Regions from separate parts of the Homo sapiens genome. Here region 1 is linked to region 2. Evidence: promoter capture Hi-C in 16 types of primary human blood cells and fetal thymus (Javierre and others, 2016). All regions are on one chromosome and are shown on one strand. Each heading gives the region's core, a stretch centred on a gene start or on the middle of the fragment in contact. The rest is flanking DNA. Distances are from core to core; before and after follow the strand shown.

Region 1 (5,285 bases), core at 411-2,910, 440 kb before region 2:
TAAAAATCTTTAAGTGGTAATGTAGCCTATTGCATCTACTGTTCAACTAGCATTCCACTGTTCCTTTTTTGGCCTCAAATGACGAAACTTCTCCAACGTCTCTGGGGAGACTAGTGTAAAGTATAATGTTTCCTGAAATTGTTCCTGTTTTTTCCCTGCACCATTCGTGATATCTCTTCAACTAGAAATGTTACATAAAACTTTTCTGTTCTGCAGGCAAGTCCAGAGGGAGAAGCAAGGTAAAGAGAATATTGTAAGGAAAACAGGTTGAAAGGGGAATAACATAAAAGCACAGGAGTAAATGTGAAGCAAAGCTATATTTGTACAAAAGAGGAAGAAGATGCAGAAAAGGGAAGAAAAACACTTTTAGCAGAGTAAAGAAAAAAAAATGGAGGAGGAACAGAGACTTGCTTCTTCCAGAAACAAAAGCAAAAAACACTTCTAAGAAAATGTGGTCTCTTTACCCAAGGGGATATTATGAAAACGCTAAAGGGTACTCAGCTGACACTCCTATTGAGCGTTCTACTTTCTCTTCCAATGCCTTTGATACCGCTAGTCTTCACCTGTGAATTAAATGCAGGCTACAGATAACGCACTCAATCCCTGCACAACTACAATTGTGGTTGCCATCTTTGCCTGGAAACAAAAAACAAAAAAACCCACAACTCCCTAGATTCGGGAAAAAGGAGTAAATTAAGTTGGAAAGCCAGAAAACCACGCCTTGCTAAGTCGGGGGGATATGGCACAGGTTAACAAACGCCTCCTACCAAACTAAGGTTCCACTAAAGGTCTGGGAATAAGGGCAAAGAGATGTATAGCCTTATCGCGACCGCAAGGGTGGGGCCTTGCAGTGGGAAACAAAATAGAAGGCAAGCTATCCCGAGAGGTTTAAGGGGGCTGAGGACTCGGCTCTCGGGAGATCGCCCATCAGGCGGTGGACACGGGGCAGCTTCGAGAGGAAGGAGACAGTGGACTGCTGGAGGAATGTCCGCGAGAATACCGAGGCTGATGGAAATAGAAGATACCCACGGGCACAGGATTAAGAGTCAAAGGGAAGAAGAGAGGGACGGGGCCGAGCAGTCTGGGGGGCCCGGCGTGGGAGGCCGGAGCAGAGGCCGCTAAGCGCCGTCCGCAGCCAGCCGCCTTCTCCGGAGACGCATTCTCGGCTCCCGCACACTCAGCCCCCCGCCGCCCCTGCCCCGGCAACAACCGCGGGCGCAGCTGTTTCCGTCGGGCCAGGGACAGCGGGGGTAAAGGCAACCCTGGGGCTGGCGGGCAGCAGACTGGCAGCGCCCGTGTGTGTGTGCGGGGAGCCGATTCTGAGACCGCCAACGCCAGACTTTGCCCTTTCTTCCCCAACCCTCCTTTATCACCCAACTTCCCGGCCGGCTGGTGTCCGCTTCGACCGACGGATACCGCACCCCCCACAACGCCTCTCGCCGCCTCTTACCCCTCCCCCGACGCCCTGAGCTGAGGGAAAACAGGCCACCCGGACCGATCCCGAACCCGCCCGGGTGTCCCCGAATCGCGGACGCCACCCCCGCCCGAACGCTGGCACTCTCTCGGCGGCTCCCTGGCCCGCCCAGATGCAGCAAACTCCTCTCACCTGCATTGACGCCATGATGGAACCATCCCCCCAAGACCGGCGAGGCCAGAGACGCAGGGGGAGGAGCTGCCGTGCTCGCGTCACGCCGCGGGGGCTCAACATCCCGGGCGCGGGGGCGGGGTCTGCGATGGGAAGGGGATGGAGCGAGGGGATTGGCTGGCGCGCAGGGCGGACGGGAGGAGGGGCTACGGGGCGGGGCGAGGGCGCGGTAAATGGCGCTCTGAGTACTTTCTGTCTCAGTCCGGCTGGCCGCTCACGCGTCGGGCCCCCATTTACTCTCGTTACTGAGGAGACACGGCTCCAGTTTTGACCCGACTACGGTTGTTTTCTTCGTGTGTACCGCGAAATGCTGATGACGTCCGGTTCCGCGCAGTTTTTTTCCTATTTCGTTTCCAACCACAGTTGTGCGGTTCACAGATTTTTCCCTTGGGATGTGTTTTCCATACCTCCAAGCCCACTCTCAGAGCCTTGGGGCCCCATAAAACTTCATGCGCAGCTGCTTTCTGGTATTTGCAGACCTGGAAGGCTTCTCGTATTCTTAATTTGGGGAAGAGAGACATAGGTTTCCTTGTACAACGGGATGAGGATTTAAGAGCAGAACGACACTGATATTTTAAAGGCGAGGGTATTTAGATTTGTGGAGCTGAAACTTGCCTGAAAAGGGAGACAAAATTTGGAAGTTTGTTGTGTGCAGTTTCTGCCCCTTACCCCCGCCCTTCACTTTTAAACTGCGCATATATCAACAATAGTTACGGTTGTTGCAGCAGTCTAAATTTGATTATCAGAATTGACCCTAGGCATGAATTTTTTTTTAAATATACCAATGTCGTGTTATATACACTTATACCATTATGTCCAGACTTCTCTTAAGCATAGTTCGTGGTGGGCAGTTTTGTGGTCATTTAGGGATGAACTTGGGTAGGGAAAGCTGAGCATACATAATTTATTTTAGGAATGCACCAGTTCTGCCAACATTTATCAGAAGTCACGTTTTTAAAAAGCTATTCTGGAACTGAAGATGTCATTGGTTTATAAGAGGAAAATGGAAGCCAAAAGCTTACACCTCATGCTCTATCTTTAAAAATTAAGGTGGCAGACACAATGAGTAGAAGGCTTTTATGTTACCAGAATGAAGGCTTAAAATCTGTCATTTTATTGACTCGGCTTTCTTTTTAGAAATTTCTTTAAGATATAAAAGCAATGTGGAATATCACTCTTTCACACTCTTAAAATAGATTACGTTCTCTGGAACTTCTCTAATCTGAAATGTGTTCAAAAAGGAAAAAGATCTTTAAAATACGCCAGTTAGTCTATGGTATAATATTAAACACTATTCATCACTAGAGAAGTTATGGTGGTATACCCTCCCCTTTCTCAGATGTCCACCTTAATGCCAGAAATGAGCGGAGTTTCCCTTTGTTGTGCAAAATGACTGTGTCCTTGAGGGATGTTTGGATGCTCTTGGTAAACCGGAATCAGCCAGAAGCATATCCGGTGTTAGCCTTGTTGTGTCATCAACATTACAACAGTGAGGAAACCCACATATTCCAATGAAAGAGGAAAACTTAAAGAAGAAGTTTCCAGTGTATTTTCTTTGAGATATATTTATTCCTATGACCTCAGAAGATCAGCTTTTACCGTCCAAGGTTCACTTTGCCTAAAAGCTGATTGTTCCTGTGGAAACAGTAGCATCGGATGACCCTACAAACAAAGCATTATGACATCATCAGAGCCAACAACCTGGCATGACAGATACTAATAAGGAAAAAAGAGGTTACAAGAATTCTGACACTCATCACAGTGGATCCAATATCTGGTCCCTTGGGTTTCATATATGTTAGAAGTATCTTCTCAGGAGGGAAAAGTCAATGCCAGTCATATCCTTTCTAGGTAATACTAAATAGCACATAATAACCTGTCTTCTTTTTTTTTTCTTTTTCTTTGAGACGGAGTCTCAGTCTCACCCAGGCTGGAGTGCAATGGCGCGATCTTGGCTCACTGCAACTTCTGCCTCCCAGGTTCAAGTGATTCGAGTAGGTGGGATTACAGGCGCACACCGCCACGCTCTGCTAATTTTTTGTAATTTTTTTGTATATTTTGTAGAGATGGGGGTTTCACCATGTTGGCCAGGCTGGTCTCGAAGTCCTGACCTCGTGATCCACCCGCCTCAGCCTCCCAAAGTGCTGGGATTACAGGTGTGAGCCACTGCGCCCGGCCATTCTTTTGTTAATATTTAATAAAAAGATCCTGACATAGGAGCCAAAACAGTGACTTACAGATGGTATGGGGGGTATATAATTATCTCCAGTGAGCATGTAATGTTAATATCTAAAACACTATTATGCCATGTTTGAAGACTAGGCTCATATTTCTACAGAGCGAGGCTTACTATCATTACTATCAGATAGGCAAAAGTTAAAATGTCTGACAGGATAATGCCAGTGCACTCCAGTCTAGGTGACAGAGCAAGACCCTGTTGTCTCAAAAAAAATATCTGACAATACCAAAAGTGAGAGAGGAAGTGGAGCTCTCATAAACTCTATAGGAGTGACACTAGTGCAATCACTTTGGAAAATAGTTCGGCAATAATGAAGTTAAAGTTTCCCATATCCTTACTGGATCTTCTTAATAGCATCATATGAGTTTTATATATATTTATATATATATTATAAATATATATATTTATATATAATATAAAATATATATATTATATATTTATATATATATTTATATATATATATATATTTTTTTTGAGACGGAGTCTCAGTCTGTCACCCAGGCTAGAGTGCGGTGGCGCGATCTTGGCCCACTGCAACTGCAGCCTGCCGGGCTCAGGTGATTCTCCTGCCTCAGCCTCCCTAGTAGCTGGGACTACAGGCATGTGCCACCACACCTGGCTAATTTTTTGTATTTTTAGTAGAGACGGGGTTTCATCATGTTGCCCAGGCTGGTCTCGAACTCCTGGCCTCAAGTGATCCACCTGCCTTGGCCTTCCAAAGTGCTGGCATTACAGGGATTACAGGCCATGCTTGGCCACGTAAGAGTACATTGAACAAATGCATATGTTAACATTGTTTGGATCTAGATTCAAACAAACTGTAAAAGAGATATTTTTGAGACACCTGGAGAAAATTAAATATAGAGTAGATATTAGAGGATATTAAGGAATTATTATTTTTGTTAGATTTGATAATGATGTTCACTTTTTCATTTCCACAGCTATTAGAAATGTCCATCAGCTTACGAGGAGATTCTCCCTCATCTCACAAACTACCTGCATCTCCACTTCCCTGGAAGAAAAAAAAAATCTGGACATACCCAAGCTGTGTATGTGCCTGAGATCTTCCCTTCCAAGGTAAAGAGAGAGCCTGAGACAGGTCTAAATTAGCATCTGGACTTTCTGCTAGTAAAGAAAAGGAAATATGGGAAACTAAATAGTAACATTAAAGGACCCACAAAGGGACTACTGGGTAAGTGCTATAATGGATAATGTAATGTGATTTATGAATGCTTTTGTTCTAGTGATTTATTAAACTGGGAAGTCAGAAGCAGTCCTGTGAACATTTGTTTGTTGAAGCATGAAAAGGCAGAATTGATGAGTCCTTGCTTGAGTCTATGCCTCCACCCAGTAGTTTGTTCTTAGTCTCCTAGGGGCTGATCTCAGCAGAGAAATGGAGAC
Region 2 (5,955 bases), core at 1,788-4,287:
CGCAGCGGTGAGCGGATCACCGTGGCCATGCCGTAGGGCACGCTCTGGCGCACGCCGTAGCCATGCCGCATGCCTCCGGCCCACTGGCCCTGGTAGGTACCTTGGAGAGACCGCAAGAAAGCACCGTGAGTCGGGGGCAGAGCTGCACCGTCACCTGCACCATCCAGCGCACACTGGCGCAGGCCTGCCCAAGGTCAAATCTGACCCATTTCCAAGTCAACCCTGGGGGATACTTTGCATCCACTTGTGAATCCCCGCCCTGTAATTTTGGGTGTAAGGCTTTAATGTCATTGCACAGAATTTTCTAGTAGTCAGATAATTTTTGCTTTTCATTAAAATTTTATGCAAGTATTTCAGAGGAAAACCACTACTTTCTAATACAAAAAGTGAACACTGGGAAACAACATTCTCCTCTGAAATTAATGCATCAAAAATTCCTCTTGGGAAGAAGACAAGGAAACAGTAGAAGATGAAATGAATTCTATGTGTAAATTTTATTCTAATATTACTAATTTAGCTGGAAAACTGTAAAAAATGACTTTTAGGTCTATGTCAGTATAACATTCCAAGAAGTATACAGGCTTAAATCGGAATACTTGGGACACAGTCATCAAATGAACGTCTTAAATTTTCTGCTACATTCAGCATCTCTTTTTTTAGTGTAGACAAAACTGTTGAATATTCAGGATTATCATTTGAATTTGGGTGAACCTTTTTGAGCTAAGAGAGAATCGACAACCACAATATATATTATGAATACAGTGAATTATGAAAAAAATGAGTAATTTAACATTTTTGTGCTTCTAAGTGAAAAGGCCAAAGCTTTGTGCCGTATCATTTGCCAAATCTCTGCATCCTCTATGGATTTCCCTAGCTGCCACTGCATTGTGAATCACACCACAGACTAGAAGCACCCTGAGGGCAGGAATTACTTCGTATGAGAACACAAAATTCTCATGTGTCCTCTGGTCTGTGTTTGTGGATGGAGGGTGTTTGATGACTATGTTGACGGTAAAAAGCTATGGTGGCTAAAAAGTATACCCTTTACTCTTGGAGAAACTGATGTAAGGCCAGATGAAATCTTCTACTGTTACCATTTTGGACTTCATCTCAGAGGAAAGGTATATTTGACACTATCTATTAAAATGTTGATACCAGATGACTCTGTCAACAAATATTATGCTTTTTCATGATAGTCTGTCATCTAGAGCATTTGTAGTGAATTTTTTGCTACTAAATAAATAAGCAAAGACATTAAAAAATAACCTGGTACAGGTTTTAAAATAATCTTAGGAGGAAATGAATGTTAAATTAGGGAATTTAGAAGTTTCTTTTCAAAATCAATTTCCTTTAATTAAGGGTAAATTTTAATTTACAGTATCCCTCAAAAGAAGCTATCTGGAAAATTTAAAATGTAATTACTTCTGTGTTATTCATAACAATTCACAATGTCATAGAAAACAAATAATGATTAGTCTGTCTTGACCTCTTTCCATTTCTGATTATATAGATCTACCCTGCAGTCACTTTGCATTTTATATTTCCATGCACAGATTTCCATTGCATGGCACATATTCATTTTCAAAACACCGGGCAAAAATGCTAGTGGTTTTATATAACTGTGTTAACAATGGCTGGTTATTTCATTGCACTTAAAAGTTAAAACCATAATGACTCCCAAGTCAACGGTTTTGACCAATTTCAAGACTACCTTCTCTTTTTGTTCATTCTGGCATATGTGACACAGGCAATAGTAGATATACAATGAAATACTAAGTGGGTCTGGTACTGTAAATGTCATATTCTGGGTAGATGTGAAGTCTTAACTTGACATCTATGAACTTCTGAGGAGGTGGGTGGCCCACAGTTTTCTCTGAAAGATTAACTCAAGAGGATAAGATAGTCATGTAAAACATTTCAGGCTAAGAAGCTTCCTATTGAATACTGGCCATCTCCAAATACCGCCATCTTAACAGGAATGGGAATGGAATTATTAGGAAATTTTGACTTTGACTTTTCCTTTGCCTATACAGGTAAAATTTAAATTCTAGGATGAAAGTTTCACAATCTGGCTTGAAGATACTAAAATAAACCACCTTATTTTTAATATTTTGTTGGTTAAAAGAATGCTATAATCACATCCTCCTAACTTTTGTCTATAGTGACAAGTTAATTTTGCTAGAACAATTTGCAGAGATGCTGTTTGATATCAATAAGTATCTGCACTTTTAAAACACAGCCATACCATCTTGGTAAATGTTTAACACTGATGGAAAATTAACAGCTAGTTTCTTTAAACTGTTATCTCCAAAAATAAGACTAGTACAGTATTTAGAATTTCCAAAAAAGTATGGCTTGAAAATCCAAGCTGTTTAAGGCAACAGCAATAATTAGAAAGTTTAAGTCTCTGCTTAACTGTCAAATAGGGAAGGGGGGGACAAGAGCATTGGCCACATTCCTCTCCTATTTTGTTAAATCACAGTATATGAAAGAATTCCTCCACAGAATTGCTAGAAACCAATTTGCAGTCAAACTGTTAGCAGTTCATCTGAAATTTAAAATAGGTTTAGTTTAGTCAATGAACCTAGAATAAGAAAGGGCCTATTTCTTTATGAAGCAGGTGGGTTCCAACTTCTCCCTGCTGCTCAAATAAAGTTCTAATTAGTTCCTCTTGATTCCTAAAATGTAGATGCATATTTCACAAGTATAAAAATTACTTTTACCAGTTTTAAACTGTGTTCATTTGGGAGCTAATTTTTTAGATTTAGTCATTTTAACTACACAATCTTGTAGTGGAAGGCATCCAGTTTAGGAGTTTCAGTCAAATTTGCACTGCACTATGCCAAACTTCAGTTTATATGCTCCGAATGGGTATGTGCAAGTATGCATCTAGTTAACAAAACGTTGTGTTTTCCCAGATATTTTCAATAGTTTTATGACAAGTGAAAAAACAAAGTACAGATCAGAATTAGCACAAAAAATTCTGGGCACCTAGACTTGGATTTCATGAGTATGATACTAACTTATTGTTAATATTCAGGGGGTTTCTATTTCAGCAACATGTAATACACAAATCACTAATAAAATAAGTGATACGTCTCACATGGAATTACTGCTTCCTTCCTCCTCCAGTTTAATGTCACCACAAAAAAACTCGGAATCAGATTTTCCCTGAATCTGATACAGGGTGTACAGGGATGGACATGTGGCGATGGGGAGAGTGCAAACAAAAACAAGCTAACTCCTTAGTGAGAACAGCAGAAAACAAGCTAATTTTTTAGTGATATTCCTATTTTGGCCAAAACCTTTGTATGAAATAAGTTACAGCAATAAACTTGCTTTAGACTCCCTTTTTATGATTGAGAACTTTCTAATGAAATAGTTACATATGAGACAGTAGAAAATCTATTAGCATAGAGTAGACATTCAGTAGTGATTTTTAAGGTTTTTCTTCCTAACTGTAGCATATTAGATTTTTTTTTTTGGTAGAAGAAGAAAACCACAGTACCACCCAGGATGATGCCAAGTTTTAAGTTTTTTTTTAAGTTTATTTTAAAACTGAAGGCAGATTATTCATAAAATCATTCTGGAGACTTATTTGGGTTTCTACGACATGTACACAGACAGCCTCTACTGTGCTATATATATTTTGATTACTAGGTATAATGAATACTCTAAACCAAGAGAGTGTGTTTAATGAATAGTATCTTTAAAAGGAGACGATTTTTAACCTTCCAAAACTGAAGAGAACCATCCCTGGCCTTCTTAAAAGATTATAAAATAATGCACACATTTAAAACAATAAATTTTGCCTTCTACTTTTGAGCATGGAATTTAGTTATATAGTAGAGCTGGGGCCTCCAACAAAATCCAGTCACAAACTGACATATTTACAGCGCTGTCAACCAGGTACTTTATGCCCATTCAGAACATTTAAGGGTCCCAATTAACTACTGTGAAACTCGGGACTCAGCCCCACATAAAACTATTAGAGAACGTTTTTTTCTTTTAATCCATGAGAACCATATGCTTAATTTATACTGTAGGATGAAAAGATGTCCTTTTTAGCAAGTTCTACCATTCTGCCATTTTGCATTTGAAACACGGCCCAAGTGTTCTGACTAAGTGAAGTGTACAAATTGTGTAAGCTTTTATATAAGCAATGGTATAAATGGGGTTGCAGTGGGCTGGAGAAACTTTTAATTGCATCCCTTTAATATCCTCCAACTCTGAGCTGCTTAATTCCAAAAAGTGATGTCGCCTCCTACAACCCTTTTCAACTAAATATGATTATGTTTATCAGGAAATGCACTTTGCTAAAGCATAAGCTATTCATGAATATCTTTCTCAGCGTATTACACAAGGAAATTCATCAGGTTTTGACACCTGTTTCAATAATGTATACTTTTCCTAATAAAAGAGGAACTTCTGTCCTGGTATATACACAATCTCTTTGGCAAATATTGTTAAATATTAAAATAAGGTGATCTTTGTTCACAGCCAGGAATACTGGCTTAGGTCACACATAATGCAAATTATTGTTTCAGTATTGCCATTCTCAGGAGTAGTAGCTGCTAACTTAGCAGCTATAGGAACACACCTGCTAATTGTATTCTTTAAAATGTAGACTTCATTACCCATTTCTAAAATATCTTCCTAGTAATTTGTCCAAGATCTCCAGGTCAGCAAAGACTGCTACTCTTTTAAGACCAATACTTTAAGAAACGGAATGAAAACTAGGAACTCACACACTCTGAACTCCACCTGCATCAGGTGGCCTTTCTGCTCCCATAACTAGGACGTTTCCAAATGCACCCCCAAATAAGGTACAATTCCCCAACATCCTAGTTACGGGGTTCTGGCTTCTATCTTTAGGCTACTGGAGGACCAGAAGCGAAATACGACTCCACGTGAAACCAATCCCGGGAGCGGTCAGCACGGACCGCCAACCTCACCCGCTCAGGGTGTTCGCTCTAACTCCACGGGAGTGGCGATTTCAAACCCGGCCGGGAGAGGGAGGGATCAGGAACGTAATGTGACGGGCTCAAGTGACAGCGTCCTCTCTCCAGCCCAACCCTCCCGGGCGGCGCTCCCTCCCGGTGGCAGCGCAGCGCTGGCGCCGGCCAGGTACATTCACGCCTAGCTCCCCTGAGTGTGGATACACGGCCCGCTCCAAGAACGGGGTCAGATCCAGCCCTCGCGCCCCAGTCCGGTCCCAGCGCCCTCTCTGGGAAAGGCGGGCGCGGGCGCGGGGGTGGGAGGCGCCCCCAGGTGTTTTGGCGGGTTTCCGGACACGTGCGCCCGGCGTCCTCCCCGCTTCCCCGCAGCCGGGGCAGAGCCCACCGCACCAGCTCGCGGAGCAGCCGAGCCGCCCGTTACGCCGCTCACCTCCGTCCCCGTAGGTCTCCACGCCGTACCCGTCTTGCAGCCCGTTACTCCAGGTACCCTCGTAGCGAGCGGGGGTGCACAGGCTCTGCCGGACCCCGTAGCGCCCCTTGAAACCATGTGACCACTCCCCCCGGTACATCCACTTGCCCTTCGTCTCCACCCCCAGCCCGTGCCGCTTGCCCTGCGCCCAGTAGCCCTGGTAGGTGTTGCCGCTGGGCCAGGTGTAGCCTCCGACCACCTCGAAGCCGTGCGACCAGGAGCCCGAGTACTCGCCCTGGCCCTTGGGCCCCGTGCAGATGCCATGCCCGTGCGCCTTGCCCTCCTCCCAGCCGCCGCAGTAGGTGCCGCCATCGTCGAAGTCGAACCTTCCGCCCGTCATTCGGGGGGCAGCCCCGGCGCGCTCCCCGCAGGGGCACGGACGCGGGCAGTGCTGGGCACGGCAGGGTGTAGCTCGGGGGTGGGGGCCCGGCGGGCGAGCTCACGACAGCGCCCTGGGCAGCTCGCGCTGCCGCTCGGCTCCAGTCCGACGCCGCCCCCGTCCTCCCTCCTCTTTTGCCGCCGCCACCG

Evidence for each region. The method cuts DNA at HindIII sites, captures the fragments that hold promoters and counts their contacts. A CHiCAGO score of 5 or more calls a contact.
Region 1: a contact is called between the fragment with the promoter of UBE2W here and a fragment that was not itself captured in region 2, in 1 of 17 cell types (fetal thymus). The highest score is 12.4, in fetal thymus.

What each region holds. Positions count from the first base shown.
Region 1 is chr8:73,877,202-73,882,486 of GRCh38, forward strand. UBE2W (ubiquitin conjugating enzyme E2 W) reads right to left here and starts at 1,661. Exons shown (of 6, transcript NM_018299.6): 1 at 1,607-1,661. The coding sequence starts at 1,621. It overlaps LINC01617 (long intergenic non-protein coding RNA 1617), which reads left to right and starts at 1,781. Exons shown (of 3, transcript NR_147034.1): 1 at 1,781-3,496; 2 at 4,826-4,961; 3 at 5,129-5,285. RefSeq lists enhancers at 344-393, 870-1,747 and silencers at 1,134-1,393, 1,414-1,463, 1,604-1,893. The HindIII fragment of the contact is 3,471 bases long and covers 1-2,660 here.
Region 2 is chr8:74,315,521-74,321,475 of GRCh38, forward strand. It overlaps JPH1 (junctophilin 1), which reads right to left. Exons shown (of 6, transcript NM_020647.4): 1 at 5,389-5,955; 2 at 1-100. The coding sequence starts at 5,767. Among named protein-coding and RNA genes, the nearest start is that of JPH1, 3.0 kb to the right of the region's middle. RefSeq lists an enhancer at 5,087-5,955. The HindIII fragment of the contact is 2,218 bases long and covers 1,929-4,146 here.